5 separate regions of the Homo sapiens genome follow, and all the other regions are linked to region 5. Evidence: promoter capture Hi-C in 16 types of primary human blood cells and fetal thymus (Javierre and others, 2016). All regions are on one chromosome and are shown on one strand. Each heading gives the region's core, a stretch centred on a gene start or on the middle of the fragment in contact. The rest is flanking DNA. Distances are from core to core; before and after follow the strand shown.

What was found. The method cuts DNA at HindIII sites, captures the fragments that hold promoters and counts their contacts. A CHiCAGO score of 5 or more calls a contact.
Region 1: a fragment that was not itself captured here is called in contact with the fragment with the promoter of BRAF in region 5 in 1 of 17 cell types (total CD8 T cells); the score reaches 5.4 in total CD8 T cells.
Region 2: a contact is called between a fragment that was not itself captured here and the fragment with the promoter of BRAF in region 5, in 2 of 17 cell types (megakaryocytes and endothelial precursors). The highest score is 8.6, in megakaryocytes.
Region 3: a contact is called between a fragment that was not itself captured here and the fragment with the promoter of BRAF in region 5, in 1 of 17 cell types (endothelial precursors). The highest score is 7.0, in endothelial precursors.
Region 4: a fragment that was not itself captured here is called in contact with the fragment with the promoter of BRAF in region 5 in 3 of 17 cell types (megakaryocytes, total B cells and naive CD4 T cells); the score reaches 7.7 in megakaryocytes.

Annotation. Positions count from the first base shown.
Region 1 is chr7:141,705,779-141,708,478 of GRCh38, forward strand. All of the region lies in intron 3 of WEE2-AS1 (WEE2 antisense RNA 1), which reads right to left. It overlaps WEE2 (WEE2 oocyte meiosis inhibiting kinase), which reads left to right and starts at 2,575. Exons shown (of 12, transcript NM_001105558.1): 1 at 2,575-2,700. The HindIII fragment of the contact is 2,116 bases long and covers 204-2,319 here.
Region 2 is chr7:141,643,815-141,646,514 of GRCh38, forward strand. All of the region lies in intron 13 of AGK (acylglycerol kinase), which reads left to right. Among named protein-coding and RNA genes, the nearest start is that of DENND11, 57 kb to the right of the region's middle. The HindIII fragment of the contact is 2,698 bases long and covers 49-2,700 here.
Region 3 is chr7:141,537,557-141,540,256 of GRCh38, forward strand. All of the region lies in intron 1 of AGK-DT (AGK divergent transcript), which reads right to left. Among named protein-coding and RNA genes, the nearest start is that of AGK-DT, 12 kb to the right of the region's middle. The HindIII fragment of the contact is 2,255 bases long and covers 238-2,492 here.
Region 4 is chr7:141,745,016-141,747,715 of GRCh38, forward strand. It overlaps SSBP1 (single stranded DNA binding protein 1), which reads left to right. Exons shown (of 7, transcript NM_003143.3): 6 at 481-569. Among named protein-coding and RNA genes, the nearest start is that of SSBP1, 8.0 kb to the left of the region's middle. RefSeq lists a silencer at 2,395-2,537. The HindIII fragment of the contact is 1,653 bases long and covers 625-2,277 here.
Region 5 is chr7:140,923,489-140,926,188 of GRCh38, forward strand. It overlaps BRAF (B-Raf proto-oncogene, serine/threonine kinase), which reads right to left and starts at 1,441. Exons shown (of 18, transcript NM_004333.6): 1 at 1,078-1,441. The coding sequence starts at 1,215. LOC105375536 (a long non-coding RNA gene) reads left to right here and starts at 1,604. Exons shown (of 5, transcript XR_002956518.2): 1 at 1,604-2,700. RefSeq lists a silencer at 1,264-1,333. The HindIII fragment of the contact is 2,638 bases long and covers 1-1,980 here.

The sequences.
Region 1 (2,700 bases), core at 12-2,511, 780 kb after region 5:
TCAAATTTTTTTTAAAAAGTCAAATATGGAGTATTTTAAACATGATTGAAATATATTAATTTATTTCCCCAAATTCATCCAAAAACAATTTATTGAACACCTACTATATGTTAGGCATTAAGGGGGAAACCCTCCCCTTTTCCTCTTATTGCCACAGATTACATGGGTCCCCCTTTTGACACATCATCTCAACTATCACCTGAAGCTTTATGCTGGGATGGATGCCTGTGGGATTAACATATACTGAAGCAGAGATGAAATTTTTCATAATGGAAAGAGGCTAAAAATGAAGAAAAGGCTACAATGTGACCAAAAAAATAGTGAGGCCATGGGCCAGAGGCCATAGGTAGCACCTCTAGGGATTCCCTTGGGTCATCCAGATCAGCAACTATGCAATTCTTATTATTTAGTTGTCCAAATTTGGGATATCTTTTTTGTACTCATTGTTACACCTTTCTTATTCTGAAGACTTAGCCACAATCATTATCTTCTGAGTAACAATACATGAAAAGGTGAATGGTGCAAGTTTCTAACAGTATTACTGCCGATAACATAAGACCTCAACCATTGCAATGGCATAGCTGCCTCCCTAGGCAAACAATGTAGTCATAAATAAGGGTAATCAAGAATTATAGCAAGGGAGAGAGAAAAAGCAGCAGGTGATAGAAAAAAAAAAAGAAAACCTGGTCTACTTGGGTAATACCTAATAAACCAGCCCCTGTGCCCTGTCTACAGGACAATAATATAGCCAGTGTTTTGAGTCAGTCCTGTTTTACTGAGAGCAAAGCCAGCCTCTAGCTGCCTGGAGAGGCAGGAATGACAAGCCATGGCATGTGAGGGGAAATTCATCAACACCAAGGCTATAGAAAAGAAATCTATCATCTGGCTTGCTGATTTGTAAACAAGACACTCCTAGGCTGAGAATCCCAGTTGATAATAATTGCATTACTGGTAACCTATGAGTTCTCCTTTTTCTTTGATGATTCTGTTTTTACTGGCCCCTGTAGGATACTGAATCTCTGACAAAGGTGGGCAGTGAGTTACTGCATTTTGTGAGCAATATTTTACCCCCTGTTGAATTATCTGGGATAGTTTGTGTGGGTGGGAGGCTGTAGGGAAGGGCCAAGGAAGGATGAATTGGTGTGCCCACCTACAAAGGGCTGGAGCATGAGAAGGCTTTGAGCTGAAAAAACACTTTGAAGTCTCCCCAGTTAGTTTTCATTTGGATTACCCTCCTCAGGAGTTCTGGCTGGGAATGGGGAAGGAATTAGGAGAAAGTGGTGGAGAGATCTGTGAAAAGAGGGAAATGGAAGAGGGGTGACAGGTAGCAAAGACTATAAAGAGAAGGGAAATAACATTTGTTTCAAACTCATCAAGCTGGCCTTGGTTCCTGTCTCTCTTTGGGCCCATGTTTATCATGTAAATAATTCCCTATTTGCAGTCCCTCTGAAGCCTCCTTGAGGGGCATGAGTGTATCATTTTCCTTTTTCATGGACTGCCTCTCACATAGTTTTCTTCTATAATGTGATATCAGTGAGGCCTTTTTCCTTTGATATACCTATACATTGTGTAATGATTACCAAAAATTTACCACACCCATATGCACCCATGCTGTACATCAGGTCCCCAGAATTGTTCATCTTATACCTGAAAGTGTGTACCCTTTGATCAGCATCTCCCCATTTCCCCTGCCTTTCCAGATCCTGGTAACCACCATTCTACTCCCTCCCTCTAGGAGATCAACTGTTTTTGATTCCACATATAAGTAAGATCATGTAGTATCTGTCTTTCTGTGCCTGGCTTATTTCACTTAATATCCCCCTGGTTCATCCATGTTATCACAAATGGCAGCCTTTCCTTTTTTATGACTGAGTAATATTCTATTGTGTGTGTGTGTGTGTGTGTGTGTGTGTGTGTGTGTGTATTCACCACATTTTCTTTATTCATCTGTCCATGGCTATTTAGGTGGTTTCCATATCTTGGCTGTTGAGGATAATGCTGCAATGAATATGGGTGTGTTGGTATTTTTTTGAGATAGTGATTTTATTTCCTTTGGCTATATAACTGGAAGAGAAGAGGGACAGCTTGATTGTATAATAGTTGTTTTTTTCTTCAAAGAGTTTTCCATCCTTCTCATAGGGGCTTCTCTGAGAAAGAAATTAAATAATGTGTACTAAAGATATTAAAAAGCATTTTACAATATAAGGCATTTTTGGCAGAAGCCATTGCTGTTTTCCAGTGATCAATATCTGTTTCTATGGTTTGTTGATCTTTCTAGCCTTTCTTTTGTCAGTTTAAATTTTTGTTCAATTCCCTAGAAGCTTTAACTGCTAACAGCTAACAGCTGCAGGAGGGAGATGCCTGAATTAGGGCAGGTGTGTTTGGCACAGAGCTAAGCTGTGTCTCTGTCAGGGATACAAACTCCAGTCAAGATATGTTAGAGGCTGTTTAAGGATCATTATGATAGCCAGGTGATGCTAAATTGTAATTACCTGCTGTTAGCTATTGGGTGGGTGGGGAGGAGAAGGGAGGAGAGGGTGATATTTATAAATGGCAGGTGTAAGGAGTGAAAATAATTTCTTTTCAATATTAGCTTATTCCCAAATTGGCTAATGGGTATTTTTAAAGCCATGCTAAATTAAAGGAATTCAATTTTCTCACTAGTATTTGGTAACACATGGGAGACTATGTGTCATATCC
Region 2 (2,700 bases), core at 148-2,647, 720 kb after region 5:
AATAGTAAGATTGAATTGTCATGACTAAAAAGCATGTTATAGATTAAAAGCTTAGTGGTGGTGTGTGTTTCTGATGGGAATATAGATTGGAACATCCTGTCTCAGCAATTTGGCATAGTATACATAAAGTGTCTAAAATATATGCATACCTTCTGCCCTATTAACTGTATTTCTAGGAATTTATCCTACTGGAATAACCTGATGAATATATAATGTAGGCAGTCCTTTTTTACATAATGGAAATCTGAAAAACACTGGTGAAAGTGGATATGTGAATGCTAAAAAAAAAAAAATAGATTCTGTTCCAGAGGAATTTAAAAGAGAAAGATAAAATGTCTAATTATACATCTCCTTTATACCAAGTCTTTAATAATATGTATTCCGAGTATTTTATTCATGTTCTTTACCATTGTTCTTTTCTCTGATGACTGAGTACCACTGAATGGATTGAGTTCAGTGAGTATGTGAGTGCGCTCAAGATTAGCCACACTCACAATGCCAAGTGCTTTTTATCTTTGTGCCTATTTAAAAGTATACGATACTGTGCCGCTTATCACTAGTAGCAGCAAATTCATTTGTTTCGTTTTTGCACAGTTCTTTATAAAAATAAAAGCAAATGCAATACAATAAAGGCAGTGTAGCTGCCGTGTAATAGCTCAAAATGTTCACTTATTAAAAGCAGCACATTCAGTGTATGAAAGAAGCTGTAGGAGTATAGAATGTGTGAAAATTAGGATCTCTTATACAACTATGCTCACTGTATAATAGTAAAATATTTGCAATGAACTAATCAGACTGAATAAATTTTGGTACATTTATTAAAAGTCATATCTATTTTATATATGTATTATTTTCTATCTATTGACATGGGAAAAATAGGTGAAAAGATTTGCAACATAGTTCCATTTTTCTTTAAAAAGGAAATACCCCCACTTATAAGTGAGTTTTGTGAATGATGGAGGTAAAGCTCCAATTTTATGTTCTTTCCAAATAGAAAGCCAGTTGTCCAAGCGCCATTTATTGAAATCTCCATTTTCCCCCATTGATCTTCAATAAACCTCTGCCATACATCATGTCTATATACATGTAAATGTTTCTAGTCTCTTTCTTCTATTGTTGTTCCATTTTCTCATATTTATACTAATACTCTGCTTCTCTTATTATAGTTTTATAATAAGTTCTATGTTTTTCTCTTTTTACACAGTCTCTTGGCTATTCTTAGCTCATTTGAGTTCTATAAATATTTTAGAATGTTTATTTTATTAAATTCCACATAAAAATGTTATAATATTGATCTCACTGCATTGTACCCATAGATCAATTTGGAGAGAAATGACATTTCTACAATATTGACTCCTCTAGCATATGAACGGGGTATATCTCTTCATTTATTTAGGTCTTCAATGTCTTTCAATGAAGTTTTATAGTTTTCTCTGGAATATCCTGTCTTTTGCTGGATATATTCCCAGTTATCTTAATTTTTATGCTATTCTAAATAATATCTATTAAAATTTCATTTTCTACCTGATTTAGTAGATGGACATATAATTGATTTTTATATCAATGCTGAATCAGCAACCTAATTAAATTATTATTAATTATTCTAACTTTCTTTCAATGAATTCTTTCAAATTTTCTACAGATTTAGTCATGGCCAATGCAAATAGTGCAAGGTTTGTTTTCTCTCTTCAAATACTTATCCTTACAATCCTTCATTTTACTTAGAGCACTGGATAGGACCTCAGTACATGGTTAAATAGAAGTAGCAGTAACAGGAGTCCCCATCGTCTTTCTTATTTCTGATTTAGAGAGAAAGTCTTCATTGCTTCATGCTTGTATTTAATGTGCTTTCTTTTTTTATAGACACCCTTTATCAGATTAAGGCAGTTCCTTTCTATTCCCAGTTTGCTAAGCATTTTTATCTTTCATGTTAAATATCTTAGATATTTAATTTTATCAAGTACTCTTCCAGCATCTATTGAGATAATAAAGTTTCCTCATTTAATCTGTCAAAGCAATAAAATGAATTGATTTTTGAATGTTAATGTGAGACTTTTGGCCAAGATGTAGCAAAAAGCACCAGCTTTATACCTTAAACACCTTAAAAATTGGACAAAATCTTTGAAACAACTATATGAGACATTGGTATGAGACAAGCAGCATAGGACAGTGAGTCCAGAGAGCAAGAAGTTGAACACAGTGAGCCTGATGCTTGCCCGAGGTGACTGCTGGAGAGAGGCCACAGCCTGCGGAGAGGGAGCCCACACAGAGCCCATGCCCTACCTCAGTTGAGGGGTCTTTGAGAATTTGAGAAATCAAGGCAGCTAGAATTGCAAGGCAGGATACAAGAGAGCCCCATGGAGAGGAGAGCCGCACCCAGAACCAAGCTAGAGGTTTACGGAGGTGTCCTCTGGAATCTTCAGCTGAGTACTGACAGGTGCATGCATGTGAGAAACCACCACCCGAGATAGAGGTTGAGTTACCTACCAGTGAGCAGGCGGGACAGTCTCAGGAGAGTCAGTCCTCTCACAAAGCCAGGAATAGTTCGTGTTCAAACCAATTAGAGTAGAAAATCCTCTTCAGACATGGGGCATTGGGTAGTGTCCTCAGAAAGGTATTGCCTCAGTAGTGAGTCAAAATTAATTCTAGACTAAAGGCTGCCCTCTTCCCTGTTAACAAAGCTAAAGGCTCACCTCCAAA
Region 3 (2,700 bases), core at 115-2,614, 610 kb after region 5:
AGAGGCATATGGGAAAAAGAACCTCAACCCCTACCTCACACAGTTCACAAATATTAACTTAAAATAGGTAATAGACCTAACCAAAAAATAAAAATAAAAATTATAAAACTTCTGCAAGAAAAAAAAAATCGGAGAAATCGGAATGATATTGCATTAAGCAAAAAACTCTTAAATGGGCCCTACAAATATGAACTATAAAAGAAAAAAAATCAATAAATTGTACTTCACCAAATGTAAAGCTTTTGCTTTTCAAAAAGCACTGTTATAAAAATAAAGCACAACATAGACTGGAAGAAAATATTTGCAAAATATATCTGAAAGGGATTTGTATCTAAAATATATAAAGAACTTTAACAATTCAATAAGAAGAATTTTTTAAATGGGCAAAACATTTCAACAGATGCTTTGTCAATATCTTCCACAGATGATTAGATATATTAGGATGTCTTCAGTTTTAAAACTAACATACCAAGTGCTGGTGAGGATGTGGAGCCATTGGAAGTCTCATATCCTGCTTCCAGGAATGTAAAGGAGTGCAACCAGTTTGGAAACTAGTTTGACAGTGTCTTAAGAAATTAAACACACTTACATAAAACCCAGCCATCACTTTCCTATGTATTTACCCAAAAGAAATAAAAACATAAACATATATCACAAAAAGACTTGTATACAAATGTTGAATGCACCTTTGTTTATAATGGCAAAAAGCCTGAAACAACCTAAATGTCTGTCAACAGGTGAATGAATGAAAAAAATTGCAGTAAACCCATGCAATGGGCTACTAGTCATCAATAAGAGCAAACTACTGAAGCACACAATGGATAAATCTTAAAAAAAAAAAAAACCGTGTTGAGAGAAAAGCCAGAAACAAAAGGTTCTATATTGTACAATTCCATTTATGTAAAACTCTAAAAGATACAAATTAACATACAGTGGTAGAAAGAAGATTAGTGATTGGCTGGTGTTGGGGTGGACTGAGGGAATGTAGGAACTGACTGGAAAAGAATAAGAGAACACTTGGGTGGCAATGGAAATGTCTGTATCTTCATTGTGGCCAGTATAGGAACATACGCATTTATCAAAAGTCATCAATCTGCACACTAAAAATGGGTGCATTTCGTTGTATGTAAATGTTATGCCAATAAGATTTATTTTAAAAATTGTAGTGGGAATGCAAGGAGAAGAAAGGGGGTAATTTTGGTATATTTCTATGTTAGAGTGGGCAGATTTTGAGTAGGTTTATATGCTAAGAGGAAAAGACAGTGGAGATGGAGGGAGAAAATACCAGAGTGAGGAAAGGACTGATGAGGCAGATTTCTCGGGGACGGGAAGATGGGGGTGCCATCCCAAGCACGGGTGGATGGATGAGCTGTGGATGGGAGGAGTGAACATAAGCTCCCTGAGTCTGCAGCAGAGGAAAGTGGTTGTACTATTAAGTTTGAACAAAGACAAATGTAATTTTGTATGTGGGAGGGCAGAAAGCAAAGGAAGTTCATGGCTCATTCAATCATTCAACCTTTATTTATTTTATGCCAGGCACTTTATAAATAAAGATATGGATATTCTGTAAGAAAGAATAATACTGTTTCTGCTCTCATATAATTTAGAATACAGTAGATGGGGGGCATTAAACAATTAAAGAACTAAATACATAATTACAGATTATTATGAATGCCATACAGGTTAAGGAATCTATTAAAGAGGGCAACAGAAGGAACCTAATTTAAACAGATGGCTCAGGGAAGGTCTCTTGAGTGAAGCCACCTTTCAGCTGAGAGGAGGAAGGTGAGAAGGAGTTAGGTGATAAGTGAATGGAATGGCTTCAGTGAAGACCTTAAGGTTGGACAGATTTGGGTACATTTTGATACAGAACAATAATTATATGTGAGTTTTAAGAGATTAATATAAAAAATGAAACCATAGAAAACTCCAAGAAAATATAAATAAATTTTGATCACTAGATAGAGGACTCTCCAAGAATATGCCTGAGATTTAACTACATAAAATTCAAGAGGTTTTTTTCTTTACTTTTATTTCGAAACATATTGTAAACCAAGTGCTAAATATTTGCAACAAATAAGTCAAAGGATTACCATCCTTACTACATAAAGAGCATGTATCAAACTGACAAGAAAAGCATTAAAACATCAACAGAATCCAGTTAGTAGATCATCCTTCTAAAATGATTGATCCTTTAGTCATTTAGGTAAGTTTATAGAATTTTAAAAATAAAAATAAACATAAAAAGCAAGTTGGGAAAATAGAATAAAAATACAAGTAAAAGACAGGCAAATTTCTATGGAAGAGGAAAATGGCTGGATAGATGAAAAAATAGTTTTACTCATAACCAAAGAAATTTAAACTGAAAAAATGAAATACTATTTTCCCAGCAATTAAATAAGTAGACATTGGGCAAAACAATACTTATTGATGGCAAGGGTGCTATGAGAGGCACTATCCAGTGAAGATAGTGGGAACATAAATTGGTTATAAGCTTTTAATTAAAAAATTTGGAAAAATGCATCTGGAACCTCAAATATATTTCCTCTGATTCATTAATTCTAGTTTTAAAAACTAACCCTACATTTATAATAAATGACGTCAATTATTTAAATTTTTTAAGTTAAAATCTTAATGGGTAGTCATTCAACAGTAAAGGAATAGACCAGGTGAGATGACTCACTCCTGTAATCCCAGGAC
Region 4 (2,700 bases), core at 201-2,700, 820 kb after region 5:
AAATAGTCTTAGTAATTAACTCAGGGTAATATTATACTAAACTAACTACAAATCCATATTTTGAATTTTAATCATCTAAGTTTCTAAGGTCATAGAAAATAATTGATAAATAAGTGAAAATCAAGTCTGTTAGGGACTCCAAAATCAAAGGTCAAGGAAAATGATACATTGGAAATTATTCCTAGAGATTTAAATGTTGCCACTAAATTTCCCTTTGAACTGTTTTGTTTTATTTTTTAACTTCCGTAAGAGAAATAGCTGACAGATGAAAACATTGTCTGTTTTACCTAGATGTTACCAAGTCTGTTTGGACACTCTGTTTCAGTACTCCTAATCCTGAACCTTGAGAAGTGGTAGCAAAAATTAGCTTATATATGATTATATATTTCATCCTTGTCATATACTCAGTACCACCCTGACCTGACTCTTATAAAGCATATTAAGATCTCAACTAAAAACTGTACATTTTATTTATATCAGGTCTCGAATTTATTTGGAAGGGAAAATAGACTATGGTGAATACATGGATAAAAATAATGTGAGGCGACAAGCAACAACAATCATAGCTGGTAAGAAGCTTGTGAAAATAGCTGTTTTTTTCTTTTTCTCCTTTTCTTTTTTAAAAGCTTGGCTACACTGTAACTAACTAGGGTTAAGAGTACCAGTACTTATGAGTTAAGGCAACTCACTAGAAGATGTCCATAACTCTTATTTCTCTACTTGCTAAGAGTTTGTACATTTATCCCTTCCTTTAAAAAATTATTTTTATACTTACAGTTTTAGTCACAAGTAACTTTTGAATAAAGCCTAAAACTGAATTATCCATCCCAGTACTTATTGTTGAGAATTACAAAAACTCTGAATGTATTGTCTTTTGGAAGGATCTAGCCCTAACCAGGAAGAAGCGTATGCCAAGATAAGAATTACACTAATGTGAGTGTGCAGATTTATTCGGAACCTCTTTGGTACTTAGTATGTGAAATTTCTATTTGAAATTAAGATTTTTTTAATTTTATTTTTTTTGAGCCAGAATCTCACTCTGTCACCCAGGCTGGAGTGCAATGGCACAATCTCGGCTCATTGCAACCTCTGTCTCCTGGATTCAAGTGATTCTCCTGCCTCAGCCTCCTGAGTAGCTAGGATTATAGGTGCGTGCCACACCACCTGGCTAATTTTTGTAATTTTCGTAGAGGCGGGGTTTCACCATGTTGGTCAGGCTGGTCTTGAACTCCTGACCTCAGGTGATCCATCCACCTCGGCCTCCCAAAGTTGTGAGATTACAGGCATGAGCCACTGTGCCCAGCCAAGAAGTTTTTAATTTTCTCTTTTTTTGTTTTTGTTTTGAGACAGGGTCTCCCTCTGTCAACCAGGCTGGAGTGCAATGGTGTGATCACAGCTTACTGCAGCCTCTACCTCCCCAGGCTCAGGTGATCTTCCCACCTCAGCCTTCTCCCAAGTAGCTGGGACAACAGGTGTACACCATCATGCCTGGCTAATTTGTCAATTTTTTTGTAGAGATGAGGTTTCACCATGTTGCCCAGGCTGGTCTCAAACTGCTGGGCTCAAATGATCCTCCCACCTTAGCCTCCCCAAATACTGGAATTACAGGCATGAGCCATTATGCCCGGCCTAATATTCTCTTTAAACAAAATACAGTACAACATAGAAAAGATGTACACGTAAAGGTTAAAGAAGATTAAGAAGATATCCCTTAGGAAAGAGTTTTTAAACTTTTGAAAATGCTATAAGAATTTTGAAAATAATATACCCCTCTGGATGTCTGCAAGCGACATTAAGAAATTTTTTTCAATACAAAATTGTGTTATTTTTAAATGTATCAATGGAATCTAAATAGCATAGCAATGTGATACCTACTATCCTGTAAAAAAATACCAGTTCAGCATTTGGAAATTTTCCATTATTCTTTTTTCTTTGAACTTGTTTTACTGTTTTTATTTTCCCCTCAGAAGTGTATCTTAATAGTATATGGTATAGTTAAGAACTTTTTATTACCCTGTTTGTAACAAAAATGCATGCATAAAAGAAACTTTAAAATATTTAAAAGAATTCTATGACAAATTCTTCTCAATTGACTTATCATTAAAGTTGTTTTTAGTACCTAATTGATCAAAACAATTTTAATGTATTTAAATTATATTGGAAATATGTCTTTAAATGAGATAGATGGTGCTTTTTTCACTTCTTGAGTAAATTGCTAAAATTAGACATTGTGAATTTTGTGCTTTTGTTTGCTTTTATGGACATAAATACTAAGAAAGCTTTTTAAAATAAATACATGGCAATAAACTAAATTTTACTATATTAATGTTTCTGTGTTTATGAACTTCTGAGATATGCCCAAATTAGATTTTTTTTTTTTTTTTTTTTTTTTGAGACAGCGTCTCACTCTGTTGCCCCGGCTAGAGTACAGTGACACGATCCTGGCTCACTGCAACCTTCGCCTCCCGGGTTCAAGCGATTCTCCTGCCTCAGCCTCCTGAGTAGCTGGGACTACAGGCACGCGCCACCACGCCCAGCTAATTTTTGTATTTGTAGTAGAGATGGGGTTTCACCATATTGGCCAGGCTGGTCTCGAACTCCTGACCTCGTGATCTGCCCACTTCAGCCTCCCAAAGTGCTGGGATTACAGGCGTGAGCCACCGTGCCCGGCTAGATAATATTTTTTAAAAATTGATTTTT
Region 5 (2,700 bases), core at 191-2,690:
CTGGAGAGGAAAAAGGAAAAGGAAAAAAATAGGACAAAAAGGAGGACAACACTAAGAAATCAATCAGACCTATAAAAATGGGTAGGAATAAAGAGGTGTGAATGCACAATGGACGACTAGCCAAAAAGTGCCAGTAGTGCAAGCGCGAAAAGAGCCAAGTGAAACCTGATGGAATCTTGACAGCTTCTGGGCTCAGAAAACAAGTAGCTCCAAAGTGTCCAGGAGGATTTGTGAAGATAACAACAGACAACAATGTTAGGGAGTGGTGAGATCAAGTACAGAGCCTCAAGAGGACCAGGGTAAGAGAAGTGCAAAAATGCTCTTAAGTGGGAGCTGGGGTTAGAAGGCAGGCAGGTCCGACAACTGGAAAATGAGCGGGCGGTAGATGGGAATAGAATGGGGGTTACCAATCAGCGACAGAGCGCTGACAAACATTAGGAACAGAGGACCAGAGACCAGAAAAGGCATCGGAAACTGCGATTTAGGATTGAAAAAGTAAAGACTAAATCAAAATAATTTGCTGGGTAAAACAGGTGAAGAGAAATCCCCAAATAGAAAAGTGAAAAAGGGCAGCGGACTGAGAAGGGGGGCAGTCCGGGAGAGGAGAGAGGAAATGATGAGCCCCATCATCCCCACGACCATGTAAGAATTACACGCGACAGTAACTCGGGCTGTTGTCTCAGCCCCAGCAACTAACCTATATCCTCCACGTCGAGGCCGCCGCCGCCCCCACCCCACAGAGATGCAGAGCTGGATACTTCAGCCAATCGTGACCTTCTCGGACCAACCCTGAGTTTCGCCCCCTATTGATAGCCTCCCGCTCAACCACCGCTGCCCCAATCCCCACATCTGGGGTGGGGGCCAGGGAAACCCCCCGGGCCATTGTGTGTGTTTACGTAGGAAGGCGCTGCATGACGGAGAGGGACACGGGGGCGATGCCCACCTCCCAGCCCGCGGAGCTGGCCCGAGAAGGTGGCTGAGGGCATCAAGCCCCCACCGCCGCCTCTTTCCAAAATAAACACCAGCCAGCCGCCGAGCCCGGAGTCGGGAGGGCGGCAGGGTGGCGCCAGCACTCACCTCCTCCGGAATGGCAGGGTCCGCAGCCGAAGAGGCCGCGGCGCCGGCGCCGGCGCCGGCCTCGGGCTCCATGTCCCCGTTGAACAGAGCCTGGCCCGGCTCCGCGCCGCCACCACCGCCACCGCTCAGCGCCGCCATCTTATAACCGAGAGCCGGGGCCCGAGCGGCCGCTGTCGGGCGGGGAGGGGGAAGGGAGGCGGAGAGCTGGGGGAGGCGGAGGCGGAGGCGGAGGCGGAGGAGCGGGGGGCGCGGGGGGCGCGGGGAGGAGCGGCCCGGGCGGCGCCGCGGGCGGAGGGCGCCTGGGCCACCTCAGGTACCGGCCCGCGGCCCCGGGCGCAGCCGAGCCTGAGGGGATTGGGGGAAGGACGCTAGGCGGGGGTGCGGGGGGGAGCGGGGGAAGGGGGCGGAGACGACGAGAAGTCGCCGCGGCAACGGCGTCACCCGCGTGTCACGGTCGTGACGTCACCCCGGTGCGTGACGTAATCTGAGGCGCGCCTTCGCGCCGTCGTCCGGGGAGGGTTTTTTCCCTTCTAACCACCCGCGCTCTCACACTTTGCCTCCGCTCCGCCGTTTCCATGGCTCCGGTTTCCTACTTTCCTCTTGTCTCCTCCGTCCTCAGCCTGTTCTGTAATGTGGGATTTACTAGAAGAGCAGGGCTGGTGTTCGAGGAGGAGAAGTTGAAATCCTAGAGGGAGGAAGGCGGGGAAGCCAATACTACTTGCTATTTCCACTGCAATGAACGTCTCTGTGTCATCAAAATAAGAACTTCAACCCCAAGGTTGAAACAGCCAAGCAGAATTTGATGGAAATATATTTAGGAACAGCTAAATTAGCAGTGCGACGCGTGTTTTCTTTTCATTGAAGAATTCAGCCAGTTAAAACGAGTCTAAATGGAAGTCTGAAAGCTTTTTCTTCATTGTTGAGGAATAAAATATTTCGTGTATTTTTCGTTTTCCAGATTCATTCATTTAACAAATATCAGTTGAGCACTTTCCATGCCGTAGGGCCTGTACAAGGCACATAGCATTCTAGACATCTGAAGCATCAAAACTAATCATTTTTATTTTGAAGAAAATCACTCAAAATATTTTATGTACTTTGTGCCTTTCATGAACAGAATATTCCAAGCATTCTCTGCAAAATACGCATGAAAACAATTGGGAGAGAAGAGGTCAATTATCTTTGAGAAGCCCAATTACAGAATGAAATTCAATTCATTATTAAAAATACATGGATCTAATAAAGAATAAATAATTGGAAAAGAAAAGTTTAAGGAAGAGAGAAACGGGAATGAGAAACAATTACTGTGGGCTCCCAATGGCCTGGAGTGAATCACCAAAGTAACCTAAACATGAAGTCATGAAAAACTAAGTGGATTCTGCCTTTTAGTACTTCCCATCATGGGGGAAGTCACCAGCGACCTCCTTACTGTATTTTGGATGATTCAAGAAATAGAAAGGTGTCCTACTGACTTCTGAAACAGGGTGTCTTCATATTGATTAGGGTCACCGTAAGCCTGGGAGCTGATGCTTACTCTCAGGTAAAGGATGCTGTGTGAGGCTGCTTGATGAATGAGAATACTAACATTCTTCTGCATTGAAAAAATATAACCTATAAGATGAA